Linked DNA regions of Homo sapiens: all the other regions are linked to region 1. Evidence: promoter capture Hi-C in 16 types of primary human blood cells and fetal thymus (Javierre and others, 2016). All regions are on one chromosome and are shown on one strand. Each heading gives the region's core, a stretch centred on a gene start or on the middle of the fragment in contact. The rest is flanking DNA. Distances are from core to core; before and after follow the strand shown. Region 1 holds the start of COL27A1 (collagen type XXVII alpha 1 chain). Region 2 overlaps COL27A1 (collagen type XXVII alpha 1 chain). Region 3 holds the start of AMBP (alpha-1-microglobulin/bikunin precursor).

Region 1 (4,156 bases), core at 827-3,326:
CAAAATAATATTTTAATTTTTTACTTTTAAAATATTTTTAAAAGTATCAAAATTAATGCAAAACCCCACAATGAACAAAATATCTAAAATGTAAATAAAGACAGGGTCTGCATGGTACCAAGTATGCAACTAAAAAAACATCAGTTATGATTGAAGAGGGAGTTCTCAACCTTAGGGGGCCGTGGACTTCTGAAAACCGGAGGAAAGCCCACGGCCCCTCTCCCCTGAAGAATGCACAAACATGCTCAATTTGTGCACAGTTTGGGGGTGTTCCTGCACTCCCTGGGGTTCGTGCACATGGAAGTTAAGAACTCTGGTTCAACATTGGGGGTGCGGGGGTGGCGGGGGTGGTTCCACGCGCCGGCCAGCAGCCTGCCAGTTCCCCAGTCCCGCGACTGGCCTCCCTCCTGGCAGCCATGGGTGCTCTGCCCTCTGCAGGAAGCAGCGCACAGCTATGCAGCTCCCCCAACCCCCCTACCTCCCCTCTCTCGGCTTGGGACTTTTCCTAAAGTTTGTTGAAACCAGACACCTTGCTCGACCGAGCCCGCGTGCAGCCAGGGTTTAAAAGGCCGCCTTCAGCGCCCCCTCCCCGCCCCCAGCGGAGACTTCAAAAGGCCCGGCGGGCGCCGCCGCCCCAGCACCTATGAGCCGCCCCCAGCTCTCGGAGCCCGCGCCGGAGCCCGTGGACGCAGAGCTGCCGAAGTTCGAGCGCAGGCGGACCGGGTCGGCGGCGCAGTCCCGCGCGCCCATGCCCCTCCCGGTGCCGCTGCGCTCCGCGCGCCCGCGCCCCGTTTAGGGAAGGGGACCTCGCCCCCCGCCCCCGCGCCCACGGCTGCGGGGACCCATGAATACAAATGCCGTTAGGCGCCGGAGGAAGGACCGACCGGCCAGCCTCGCACGTAGGGACCCAGTAAGTGCTTGGGGGCTCCTGGAGCGGTGCGAAGTGTTATATGCCTGTGTGTGCGCGCGCCTAAAGGTGTGCGCGTATGGGGAGGTGGGTACACGCGTGAGGAGTGAATGCGTGTGTGCACATGTGCGGTGGGCACTCTCGGAGAACTGTGTGCAAGTGAGGGTGTGCGCGCGTGTGTCCACCCGGGGTGTGTACATGTGTGGGGGCGATATGGCCAGGATAGCGTGCATTTGTGCCTGTGTAAGCATCCGTGTGCATGCTTCTGCGAGTGTAGAGTATCAGCGTGCGCCTGAGCCCAGATATCTGAGGATGCGTTTCGTGTGAACCTAGGAAGGGTGCGTGGCTGTCCCAGAATGGGACCGTGTGTGAGCGTGTGTCTGAGTTTGGGGAAAGGGTGGATACGTGTGGGAGTGTGTGTGTGCACCGGTGAATAAGTGTAACTTTGCTCGTGAACGAGTGGCAAGAGGTGGTAGAGGCGGAGGGAGCTGTGGTCCCAGGGCTGGACTGGAGTTTTGGGTGTGAGAATTTGCCCGGGGGCCAAGGTGTGCAGCTCTTAGCTCCCGGATGGGATCCGAGGGAGTTTTTGTCGATTCTGGGGAGGTGCGTGGTTAGTGGTGGTGGTGGGGTGCGGTTAGATTCCAATTGCTGACAGAAGGGAGAGAGAGGGTGGCAAACCCTTAACAAGCCCACCCTATATGTTCTCCAGGGCGCTCCGAGTCTGGGAGCGCAAACTTTTGGTGGGCGGTGGGGATCACGATACTGGTTGTCGTGGGCGTCTGGACACCAAGTTCTGGTCCTAGCTCCGTCCCTGAAACTGTGGGTTTCTTCCAGGAGTAGAATTTGGCCCTTCTCCCCTACCCCAACCCCCCATTGGAGGACCCCCAGCCTCACCAGTCAGAAGTTCCTAATCTCAGAACGGTGATCAAATCACCGTGAAGCCCTGGGCAGCCCCTTCCTCTCTGTGAATCTGTTTCCCCATCTATACAAGGAGGAGGGGGGCGGGTGTCCCATCGGGGCTGTAGTGGGCCAGCTGAGGCTGTACCCTTGGCTCCGGCCGGCAGGGGGCAGCAGGGGGCAGCAGAGGGCGGCCGGGAGCGGGGAGGAGGGAAGGTGGAGAGCCACCGCGGGCCGAGACTTTAAATCGCCTTCATTTCCCCCAAATCCTTCCTTTTCCTCTCCTCCCCCAGGCCGGCGGGGAGGCAGCTTCCACCGCCCTCCGCGCGCCCTCACCCGGCCTTGCTCTGCCTCCGGGGACCGCCAGCAGCCCGCCTCCAAAAGTTTGATCATCTCTCTCTCTCTTTTTCTTGCTTCTTCTTCCTTTTTGGTGGAAGCAGAAAAGGACCGAGGCAGGGGCGAGCGCGGCGCCCGGACTCCTGGGACCATGGGCCTGGCGCGGGCGCCCGCGGGGCCCCAGCCGCGCTGCCTGCCTGCTCGGGCGCCCCTGGGCGCGGGGCTGCGCTGGGGGCGCGGGGGCCGCGCGCTCTAAGCCGGCCTGGCGCGGCGGGGCGGGGGGCTGGCGGCCCCATGGGGCGCGCCCACACTTGCCCCCCGGGCTCGGGAGCATGAAGTAGGGGCCTGCCATGGGAGCGGGATCGGCGCGGGGGGCCCGAGGCACAGCGGCGGCGGCGGCGGCGCGCGGGGGGTGAGTACGAACTCGGGGACGCCCCCTCCCTAGCTTCCTGCTGCTCCAATCTCGGGGAGGGCCGGGGTTCCCCGCCATGCGGTCGCTTCCAGCGGAACGTCAGCTTCCTGCCCCTTCCTGCGCCCCCGCGAGGCGGGACGCCAAGGGTTAATAGGGGCTGCGCCCCCGGCCGGGCGAGAGTTGGCGAACGCTGCCCGCCCTGCCGCGCCTGGCCCGGCTGCCCGATCCCGTTGGGGCGGGGGCAGAGCCAGCCCGGGGGTCGGGGGTGGGGGTGGGTGGTGGCGCCTGGAGCGGCCGGCGGGGTGCGGAGGGGGGCTTTTTGGATGCTTGGGGGAGGAGGGGGGTCTCCGTTTGGGGCCGTCTCGGTGTGTTCCGGTGTCTCAGTGTCTGCAGGTCCCAAGCCTGTACGTCTCCGTTTCTATCTGTTCTTGTGAAATTGTCCGCAAGTTTCTAGGTCACCAGGTCTCGGGTTCTGCTCCTGTCTCCGTGTCTGTGTGGCTCTGCACGTCCCCGCGTTTCTGGAAATCTCCGCGTGTTTGTGTTAGTCGGCCTGGGTCTGTGTGTCTGTGTTTCCTGCTTCTCGGTTCCTGTCCCTTTCACGTGTGTAAGAGAGAAAAAGTGAGAGCCAGCATGTCAGAGCAGAAAGGGCCCTGGGCGATCACTGTGCGGAACCCCTCAGTGTACAGATCGGGAGACAGGGCCGGAGAGGGGCAGGGACTCTCCCAGGAGCGGCTGCGCGGAGCTGGGGCCCAGAGGCTGGGATTCCCAGCGTGTGGAGTAGGAGTTGTAAGAGAGAGTGAGCCTGTGCTGGAGCCGGCGCAGCGTGTGGGTGTGTGTGGGAGCCAGCAGCATGCAAGCAGCCCGTTGGGGCCTGTGGACGGCGCTCCTCTCTTTCCATCCTGCCCCCAGGACACCAGGACACTCCCCAGAGGCTGTTAGGGCTGTAGCTGGGCCCTGCCCCCTTTGAGCTGGAGTCCGCGGGATGACACCCCCTCCTTTCTTCCCCATGTCTTGGAAAAAGCTGGCTGTTTGCGATTCCCCCGCCCCGCACCCCCTCACCACAACACACACACACACACACACACACACACATACGCGCGCGCGGCACCAGTGAGCACACTGCTGACTCATTTTCTCCAGAAGACCCTGCGCCAGGGTAGATGCCAGCAGTTGGGCAGAAAAGTGGTGCCAGGCGAGCACCCCATGGTGGGGCTCCAGCTGTGGGCAAGTGGGCAGTCAACACTGCTCGGAGGCCCAGTCTCTGCCTTCTCCTGCCTCCCTGCCTCCCTTGACATCACGTTGTCCTGCATCATGTGCGCTCTGGCGCCAGCATACCTCTGCTCTCCAGCATGCCTCTGCTCTCCAGCATGCCTCTGCTCCTGGACCCTTCTGGCCGGACCAAACTCCATGTCATGTCTATGGACACATCCCTGGCCTCTGCCTCCTTCTGTTTCCTCCCTGTACTCAGAACATTCTCCCTCTCCTGTGCCTCCACCAGCGCTGCGGACCCTCAGCAGCCAGCAGCCTCCTGGTGGTCTCTGTCCCTTTCTGAGCACACTCCCCTGTTCTTTGTTGGCATTTTCTCTCCTCCATCTCTGTCCAGG
Region 2 (4,156 bases), core at 873-3,372, 100 kb after region 1:
GAAGAGAAGAGAAGAGGAGAAAAAGAATAAGGGTTAGGAGTTCAAGCCTCAGAATCAGACAGACCTGGGTAGAATCCCAGCTACACCACTTTCTGACTATAATCCTGGGGCAGATCTGACTGTATTCCTGGGGCAGATCATTTAACTTCTCCAAGCCTGAATTTTGCTCATTTGAAAAACAGAAAAAAGAATCATGGTCAGGATAGTGTGATCGTGTGGGTTAAATGGAAGCGTGGGGCTAATGTTCATTACAGAATGGTGTTTGTTCCCTGGAAGCATTTTGGTTATTAGCAGCATTATTGCTTTTGTCCATTCACTCATTCACTCTGTAGTTACTGAGCGATAAGTGCTTGTGGGCAGTTTCAGGAGCTGGGTGAAGGGGCCCAATCTCCACTCACTGCAACCTCCACCTCCTGGGTTCAAGAGATTCTCGTGCCTCAGCCTCCCTAGTAGCTGGGATCACAAGCGTGTGCCACCACACCCAGCTAATTTTTGTATTTTTAGTAGAGATGGGGTTTTGGCAGTTCCAGGAGCTGGGGATGTGGCAGCAAGAAAGGTAGAAAGTGGTCCCTTCCTTTGGAGCATGTAGTCTGGTATGGGGGGGCAGGGTAGATAGAACCCAGTAAGTGATGTCTGTTCTGGAAGAGCAGGCACAAAGATGGGAAATGCTGGACAAACAGGGCTGAGGGTCCTCAGGGGCCTGGGCTTCTCATGATGACTGAGGAAGCAGGGTTGGTGGGAGGCTCTCAAGGCAGAGTGGTGGGAGAGGCTGGGAGAGCTGGGGGAAGGGTGCGGCCAGGAGCACTCAAGTTCAAGAGCCCCTTCTCCTTCCCAGGGGTGATGATGTGCAGGGGGTGGGGGTGGGCTTGCTCTCATTTGGAGCAGGTAGAACTTGCTTCAGATCCCTGTTTCTGCCAATGGAGGATGGAAACTAGGAAAGGGCACTCGCTTCAGCCAAAGCCAGGGGTCAGGGCTGGGAGCCCAGTCCGAGGTGGGCTTGGGGAAGTTGGGGAGGGTGTGGGGGTAGAGGGACCAGCCCAGGCACAGATCCGGAGGTAGGGCTGAGGGGCGATGAGCTCAGGTTGCCTGGGTGTCTCCAAAGTCCAGACTGAGGAGTTCCCTGGGGTCTGATGAGGAAGGGCCCTGAAGCCTTTCATGGTTTGAACCCAGGGGAAGCTCGCATAAACCTGTTCTCTACTGTGATTAGGGAAGCAAGGCCAACTCAGCTCCTACACTTTTTCATGCACCTGCTGTGTGCTAGCATAAGCTCCTCCCTGGAGGTACAAAAATGGTAAGAAAGAGTTCCAGCTCTTAAGACTCTCACTGTCTGGTGGGGCTGTCAAGTATAAACATTCTCTCCATCATTAACAGACTTTTATCGAGCACCTACTCTGTGCCAGGCCATGCCAGGGGCCGAGGAGGTAGAGGGGTGGACTAGTCCAAGGGTGAGAGGCCTGGATATAGGTGACCGTCACCCAGAGGAGAAGGCATCAGCACCAGGGGTCTCTGTCCATCCTCATGATTCTTTGGACAAGTTGGAACGTTCTTGAGGAGCACAGTTGGAAGCAGAAGCCAGCACTCTGGGCTCCCAGTGACATATTTTTGCCCTTTTCATGAGAAGGAGGAAAAGTCACATCTGGCCCAGGGCTGGAGGAGCTGGCAGTGTGGAAGTAGGACTGTTGGGGTAGAAGCAGGGGGTCAGAGGACCAGCATTCTGGTCAGGGGGCTAGCACGGCTGGCCGAGGCACCCAGCTTGGAATGCAAGGGCCCGGCCTCCCTCCCAGTGGTCAGAGATAGAGTGATTGGAGCCCTCAGCATGGGGGGTGCCCAGAGTAGGGCCGAAGCCTGAGTACAAGGATGCTGGGGGTACATCATCGAGTTCTATCCCTGGCACCCCTGCACCTCAGCCGTCCTGGGCCTGTCTCCCCATCTGTCTAGTGGGAGGAGGAAAGCCAGGAAAGGAGTCACTGGGACACAATGGAAGGCCAGCGGGAGATGGGGAAAGAGTGGGGATATTCAGGCCAATACAGAGAAGAAGGTGCAAGCCTCCTCTGAATCCCTTGCCTCCCTGGCTCCACTCACCTCCCCACCCCACCCCATCTCCTCAGTGCTTCCCCCTCTTCAGTGGGTTGGCTCAGGCTTGGTGAAATCAGACGGTCACTTACTGCTGTTTCTGATCCCAAGGTTGCCATGGTCCCCCACTGCTACGGTACAGGGCTGGTCCCTTGGATCTCTTGGGGTTCCTCCTGGCCAGCGACACTGGGGAAGCCGGCTAGCTCGGAGGCCCAGAAAACCACCTTCAGAATCAGATACATGGGGGTGAAATTCTGGCTCCCCGACTTGCCGGCTGCGGGATTGTTGGCAACATTCATAGCTTCTCCGACCCTCAGTTTCCCCATCTGTAAGTCAGCATGATGCCACCTGGAGTATGAGATTGTCATCGGAAATGGTGCAGTGCATGATGTGGTGTCTCACAGCCCTCCTGCATAACTGTGTGCTTCATGAATGGTGATAACTATTTGTTAGAGATGATCATTGCCACTATTATGAGTAAGGCTACTACGATTAAAAGTGACATTTCTGGTGATATTGTTCACACCTGATTGGCATTTTCCCACTTTATCAATCACTTTCACCTCCATGTTGTCCGATAGCACATTGAGATCTATCAAGATTATTATCCCCAGGCCAGGTGCAATGGCTCATGCCTGTAATCCCAGCACTTTGGGAGGCCGAGGCTGGCGGATCACGAGGTCAGGAGATCAAGACCAGCCTGGCTAACACGGTGAAACCCCGTCTCTACTAAAAAACAGAAAAAAATTAGCCGGGCATGGCGGCGGGCACCTGTAGTCCCAGCTACTCGGGAGGCTGAGGCAGGAGAATGGTGTGAACCTGGGAGGCGGAGCTTGCAGTGAGCCAAGATAGCGCCACTGCACTCCAGCCTGGGCGACAGAGCAAGACTCCATCTCAACAAAAAAAGATTATTATCCCCATTATTGGGGGTGGGAGTGAGGCCCTGGGACCTGCCTAGGGTCGCCCTGGGACCTGCCTAGGGTCACCCAGTGACCAGAGTTGGGTCTAGCATTCAATTCTGACCTCCTCCTGCCTTGCGAGAGCAGGCAGCTACCTTTTCCTGAGGACTTTGTCACTTCACCTTCTAGAAACTCTAGGGGGTAAGGACTCTTCTATCCCCATGTTATAGATGACAAAACTGAGGCCCAGTGAGTTGAAGTAACGTGCCTAAGATGGCACAATTAGTAAGTGGCCAAACTGGCATGTGAGCCCGGGTTCTCCAGTGCTACAGCCTGCTCTTTTCAGCACTCTATGCCTTGATGTAGAGACTTGGCTCCCGAAATTTCCCAGCGGTGCATTGCATGCCTTCTGAGCTCTGAGATCACTCTATAAAATGGCCCATTCTCACCCAGTCTTTCTGTTCTCCACCATCCGGGAGTCAGAACTGCCTTTTATGGGGCCAAGCCCGGGTCCACACCCTGCTTGCTCTACTGACGAAGGGTCAGCCTGGGACCCAGCCCCTCACATCAGCCCCTCCACAGCAGCTGTTGGAGGGTCTGCTGGGTGATAGCGGCTGGGTTCACACCCCTCAAAGCCATGGGGAAAGGGAAATGGGAAAGTCAAGAGTTCGCTCTGAGGCACCAGATGGGGCTGGGCCTCTCCCTGGTATTCAGAGGAGGGATGAGACTGGCTCTGCCTTGCAAAAGGAGCACGCCCAGTCTGAGAATTGCTGCGGAGCTGGGAGGCTCCTGGAGCTGGCAGAGGGTCCTGGCTGGCCGGTGGATGAAGTTGCTGCTTGAGGTCTCTCAAGCTGGGCCTGGAATCGGGGTGGGGGCGGGGGAGACATTAGGCAGAGGGGTGGCCTGCTTCCCATCTTCTCCTGTGTTCCCTCCGTTCCCACCCTCTGCCCTCTTCAGTTCATGTGCTCCTTGTTCATTCAGCAGATTCCTGAGTGTCTGTCGTGCACCTGTGCCAGGCCAGGTGCCGAGAATTCCAAGAACTAAACTGGCCCTCTCACCCTGTCTCTCTTGCCCCTCTTGTCGTCTGTTCATCAAAACCAAGATGGCTGCCCATTTGCCCGGGGCTGGGCCTTGCTCCCTTCTCATGCCACCCCACCCACTTCTCTGCCTCTGCCTCCCCTCTC
Region 3 (4,156 bases), core at 891-3,390, 77 kb before region 1:
GAGAGGTTGTGGCAGACAACCAGGAAAGAAAGGGAGGTGGCTTGGACCAGGATGGTGGCAGTGGAGAGGGGAGAAGTGAACAGGTTGGGGGGGATTTAGGAGGAGAATGGGCAGGACTTGATGATGGGTGACAGGGGAGAGAGGAGCCCAGTTCCCAGGTTGGGTCCCTGGGGGGCTGAAGTACCCACACTGGGCTAAGGAATGCCCAAGGGGGAGGAGCAGTTTGCAGAACAGGCACAGTGCTGGGACACTGCCCTCGAGGAATAGATAGGACACCTGAAAAGGGCCGTCCTGGTGGAGGAGCGTAGAGGGATCTGGGGTTCAGCGGGAAGGTCCTGACTGGAAGCAGAGATCTGCAACTTCCCAGGATGGACGGGGCTGGGAAGGTTGTGGGTCTCTGGGTCTCTCTCAGCTTTCCAGCCCCACCCTAGTGCTCACCGCCAACGAGTGCTGGTCATGCTGATCTCCGCCTCTGTAGCGCCCTCTCCCAGCACCAGCGTGCTCACTGTCATCCTGTCCATGATCTTCTTCAGCCAGGGGCAGGTGGAACCGATGGCCAGGTTGTACCACTTCCCATAGATCTAGGAGGCAGGTGAGCTCTGGGGGTCTGCATCAGTCTCAGACCTCAAAGCAGACCTGGCTGACATCTGCTCCCCACCCTCCACCTCCTCCTCTTCCTCCTCCTTCTCCTCAAAATGACTTATCCTTTTAAGGGATAATGTCTTACAACTAATCAGAGGCCACACACCTTCAAGGGAGGCCAGATCCCTAAGAGTGGCGTTTCAGGCATCACAGCGAACCCAGGAAGCAGGTGTGCGGCTGGGGTCCCAACCTGCCCTGCAGAAGGGCTAACTCTCTCAAGATGTGGGATCTGTCCATAGCTCCATCAACCACTGCTCCCCAAGAGCTGGAGTCCTGTCTTTTACTCCTCCAATGATGGGGTGCTCCCCACCTTGCAAGGCAGCCCACAGCCCCATGTTAGGAATTATTTCAAAAGTATAATGAACATGATGGGGTCATTCAGGATAGGCCTGCTTCCTCTTCCTCCTGAAAGTGCACGGGACAGCTGAAGGAGCCCTCAGGCTCCTACGGAACAGGCCAATGTGCCCCACACCCTTTGCGTCCCAGACTGCCACAGGGACCTGCTCCTCATTGCCCCTCTGCCACGACCTTTCCTTGTCCCTAAAAGTAAACAAAACCCACATGACACCACAGCTAGAAGGTTCTGAGACCCTTCATACAGACATGGAGACAGCCCCAGGTGGGCAAGGGTATTCTCAAAGCCACCCCGGGATTTAGGGCAGAGTGGGGGCTGGAAGGCAGCTCTGGCACTCCACACTCACAGGAGAGTGTCCTGCCCCAGTCCAGGTCTCTCCTTGTGCCCAAGCCTCTGAATGTCTCCCAACCCTAATCTCTGTCCTGCTTCACCTCTTCCCATAAGCCCCACATGCCCAACCCAAAAGCTGCTGGCCACATGCCCACGCTGTGCCACCCCAGGTGTCTGTCCACAGTCAGGCCAGGATGTGGGCAGGGGACACAGGAAGAGCTAAGGGAAAGATGCCACAGAGAGAGGGGAGTCATTAGAGAAGGAAGGGCTGGGAGGTCTGGGCAAAGCTAGGTGTCTGCACGGGGGCTGCAGGGCAGTGGCAGGCAGGACAAAGCCTTCTCTGGAGCAGGTTCCCATTAACACAAGGGTTCCCCTTGGAGCCCACGAGGACAGTGCAGAAGGTGAGGATGTTTGACTCATAGAATGTCAGCCAAGAGACCCACGGAATGGCAGGGGATAGAGCTGTACCTTCAAAGGATCCCATAATCCCAGATGATCTGAGTGGAAGCCTGAGACCCCGAGACAGGCCGCACTTGCCCAGCAGGGCCCATCTGCCTGGACTCCCCATCACCACATCCACCCTACCACAGAGAGCGGCAGCCTTACCCGAGAGATATTGAAGTTTTCCTGCACTTGGATGTTGTCGGGCGGCGTTGGCACAGGGCCAGCGCTCACCGCCAGGCAGGCGCTCAGCAGCAAGAGCAGGGCCCCGAGGCTCCTCATGGCTATGGGCTCCTCTGCCTTGGTATATCCCACAGGCTCGGTCTAGCAACAGAAGGGCCACCGCCTCCCTGCAACAGGGCAGCTGTGAACTGAGGCTGGGGAAGGGGCCTGTGGCTTGTAGTTGACCTCAGTGTTTGCCCTGCTCAGCTGGGGCCAATTACAGCCCCAAGGACAGCTCCAATCGATCCCTGTAGCCTGGCTGGGGTCAGCAGTACCAAGAGGCCGGGATGGCTGCTTCAGAAGAGGCATTGGCCAAGCACAATAGGGCCCTGGAGCACCAGGATTGGGCTCCGCCCCCCAAAAGTCCCCCACAGAGGGCATGCGAGGATGGGGAGCGACCTGGCCTTTCTGCTGAGTCATGCCATCTGGACCTCACAGCTCTGTGAGCCAGCAGGTCAAGCCTGATTGGGCCCATTTCTCACAGGAAAAAACTGAGGCCCAAGGAGAGGAAGTGACTTGCCAGAGACCTCAGGGAAGTCTATGGGCAGAGCCAAGACCAGAACCCAGGTATCCTGTCTCCAGAGTTCCTTCTCCAGCCCCCAGGCTTGCCCTAGCCTTTGCAAATAATAGAGACATTAACAATGATGACTGTTACGAGCTTCCGTTCACTGAGCACCTGCTATGTGCTGGCTGTGTACCAGGCACTTTACACGTGCCACAGGTGTCCAGTAAATCCCCACAACAAGCTTACGAAGTAGGTGCTATTTGTCCCCTTTACAGGCAGAGGAGTTGAGTCTCCAAGAAGTGAAGTGACTTGCCCAGAATCCCTCAGCCGGGAGTGGAGTAGCTGGGAAAGGCGTGGTAGAGACCATGGACGTGGGAGCCAGGCAGCCTACAGTGGCACTCACTGCTGTGTGACCTTGGGCAAGTCACTTTACCTTTCAGTGCCTTGGTTTCCTCATCTGTAAATGGGGATAATAATAGTTCCTAGCTCCTAGCATTGTTGAGTGAGCACCTGCAATGCGCTAGGACAGTACCCAGCATAGAGTAAGAGCTGAGTGTTTGTGGTGGGTTGAACAGTGCCCCCTCCAGAATCCATGTGCACCCCGAACCGCAGAATGAACCTGATTTGCAGATGTGATTAGTTAGATGAGGTTGAACTGGATGACAGGGGTTTTAAATCCAATGACCGGTATCTTTATAAGAGAATGGTGAGGGAGACTCAGACACAGGGACACAGAGAGAAGCACGGGGAAGATGTGGCGTGACGCCGAAGGCAGAGATGGGAGGGATGCAGTGACACGTCAAAAATCACCAAGGATTGATGGCAGCCACCAAAAGCTAGCAAAAGGCAAGGAAGGACTTTTCCCCAGAATCTTCAAAGGGAACATGGCTCTGCTGAAAATTTGGTCTCAGGTGTCTGACCTCCAGTGCTGAGAGAAGACACATTTCCTAGCAGCCCTAGGAAACTAATACAGTAGTTATTAAACTTAAGGTTTTATTTATTTATTTATTATTTTGAGACGGAGTTTCACTCTTGTCGCCCAGGCTGGAGTGCAGTGGTGCGATCTCGGCTCACTGCAACCTCCACATTCTGGGCTGAAGTGATTCTTGTGCCTCAGCCTCCCGAGTAGCTGAGATTACAGGTGCCCACCACCATGCCTGGCTAATTTTTGTATTTTTAGTAGAGACAGCGTTTCACCATATTGGCCAGACTGGTCTCTAACTCCTGACCTCAGGTGATCCTCTCACCTCAGCCTCCCAAAGTGCTGGGATTACAGGCGTAAGCCACTGCGCTCAGCCTAAATTTAAGATTTTAAATGAGAATTTTTTAAAACCCAGGTCCGTTGTCTGTGAGCTCACACTCTTGCCAGCAATACCAAAGGCCTCTCTATGAATTTCCCTTCTCCAGTGGTTAAATCTACTGTCCTTACTTCCTCCCTGCTCTTGGCATGGAACATTCCATACTCTCAGCCACCTCTCTGTTAGAGCTGGGAATGACCCCTTCGGGCAGGCAGTCCCAAGATTAAGACCCCTGCTTATGTGAGAATCAAAGGATTCCCCCATGTAGTCAGTGCAGAAACAAATGGTGTATCATGTCCCTTCTGTAAGATTCAGTCAGTACATCCCTCTTTCACTGGTATCCAGAACAAGTGTGCTTCTATT

What was found. Contacts are between HindIII fragments. The CHiCAGO score rates a contact against its expected background, and 5 or more counts as called.
Region 2: a fragment that was not itself captured here is called in contact with the fragment with the promoter of COL27A1 in region 1 in 1 of 17 cell types (endothelial precursors); the score reaches 7.3 in endothelial precursors.
Region 3: a contact is called between the fragment with the promoter of AMBP here and the fragment with the promoter of COL27A1 in region 1, in 1 of 17 cell types (endothelial precursors). The highest score is 7.3, in endothelial precursors.

The regions. Positions count from the first base shown.
Region 1 is chr9:114,153,461-114,157,616 of GRCh38, forward strand. COL27A1 (collagen type XXVII alpha 1 chain) reads left to right here and starts at 2,077. Exons shown (of 61, transcript NM_032888.4): 1 at 2,077-2,552. The coding sequence starts at 2,491. It overlaps LOC105376225 (a long non-coding RNA gene), which reads right to left and starts at 808. Exons shown (of 5, transcript XR_930256.3): 1 at 1-808. RefSeq lists an enhancer at 1-405 and silencers at 1,942-2,061, 2,949-3,243. The HindIII fragment of the contact is 6,106 bases long and covers 1-4,156 here.
Region 2 is chr9:114,253,524-114,257,679 of GRCh38, forward strand. The region is part of intron 27 of COL27A1 (collagen type XXVII alpha 1 chain); the gene reads left to right. Among named protein-coding and RNA genes, the nearest start is that of MIR455, 46 kb to the left of the region's middle. The HindIII fragment of the contact is 5,623 bases long and covers 1-4,156 here.
Region 3 is chr9:114,076,160-114,080,315 of GRCh38, forward strand. It overlaps AMBP (alpha-1-microglobulin/bikunin precursor), which reads right to left and starts at 2,141. Exons shown (of 10, transcript NM_001633.4): 1 at 1,934-2,141; 2 at 439-581. The coding sequence starts at 2,050. It overlaps LOC107987120 (a long non-coding RNA gene), which reads right to left. Exons shown (of 3, transcript XR_001746905.1): 3 at 3,781-4,156. The HindIII fragment of the contact is 5,279 bases long and covers 1-2,734 here.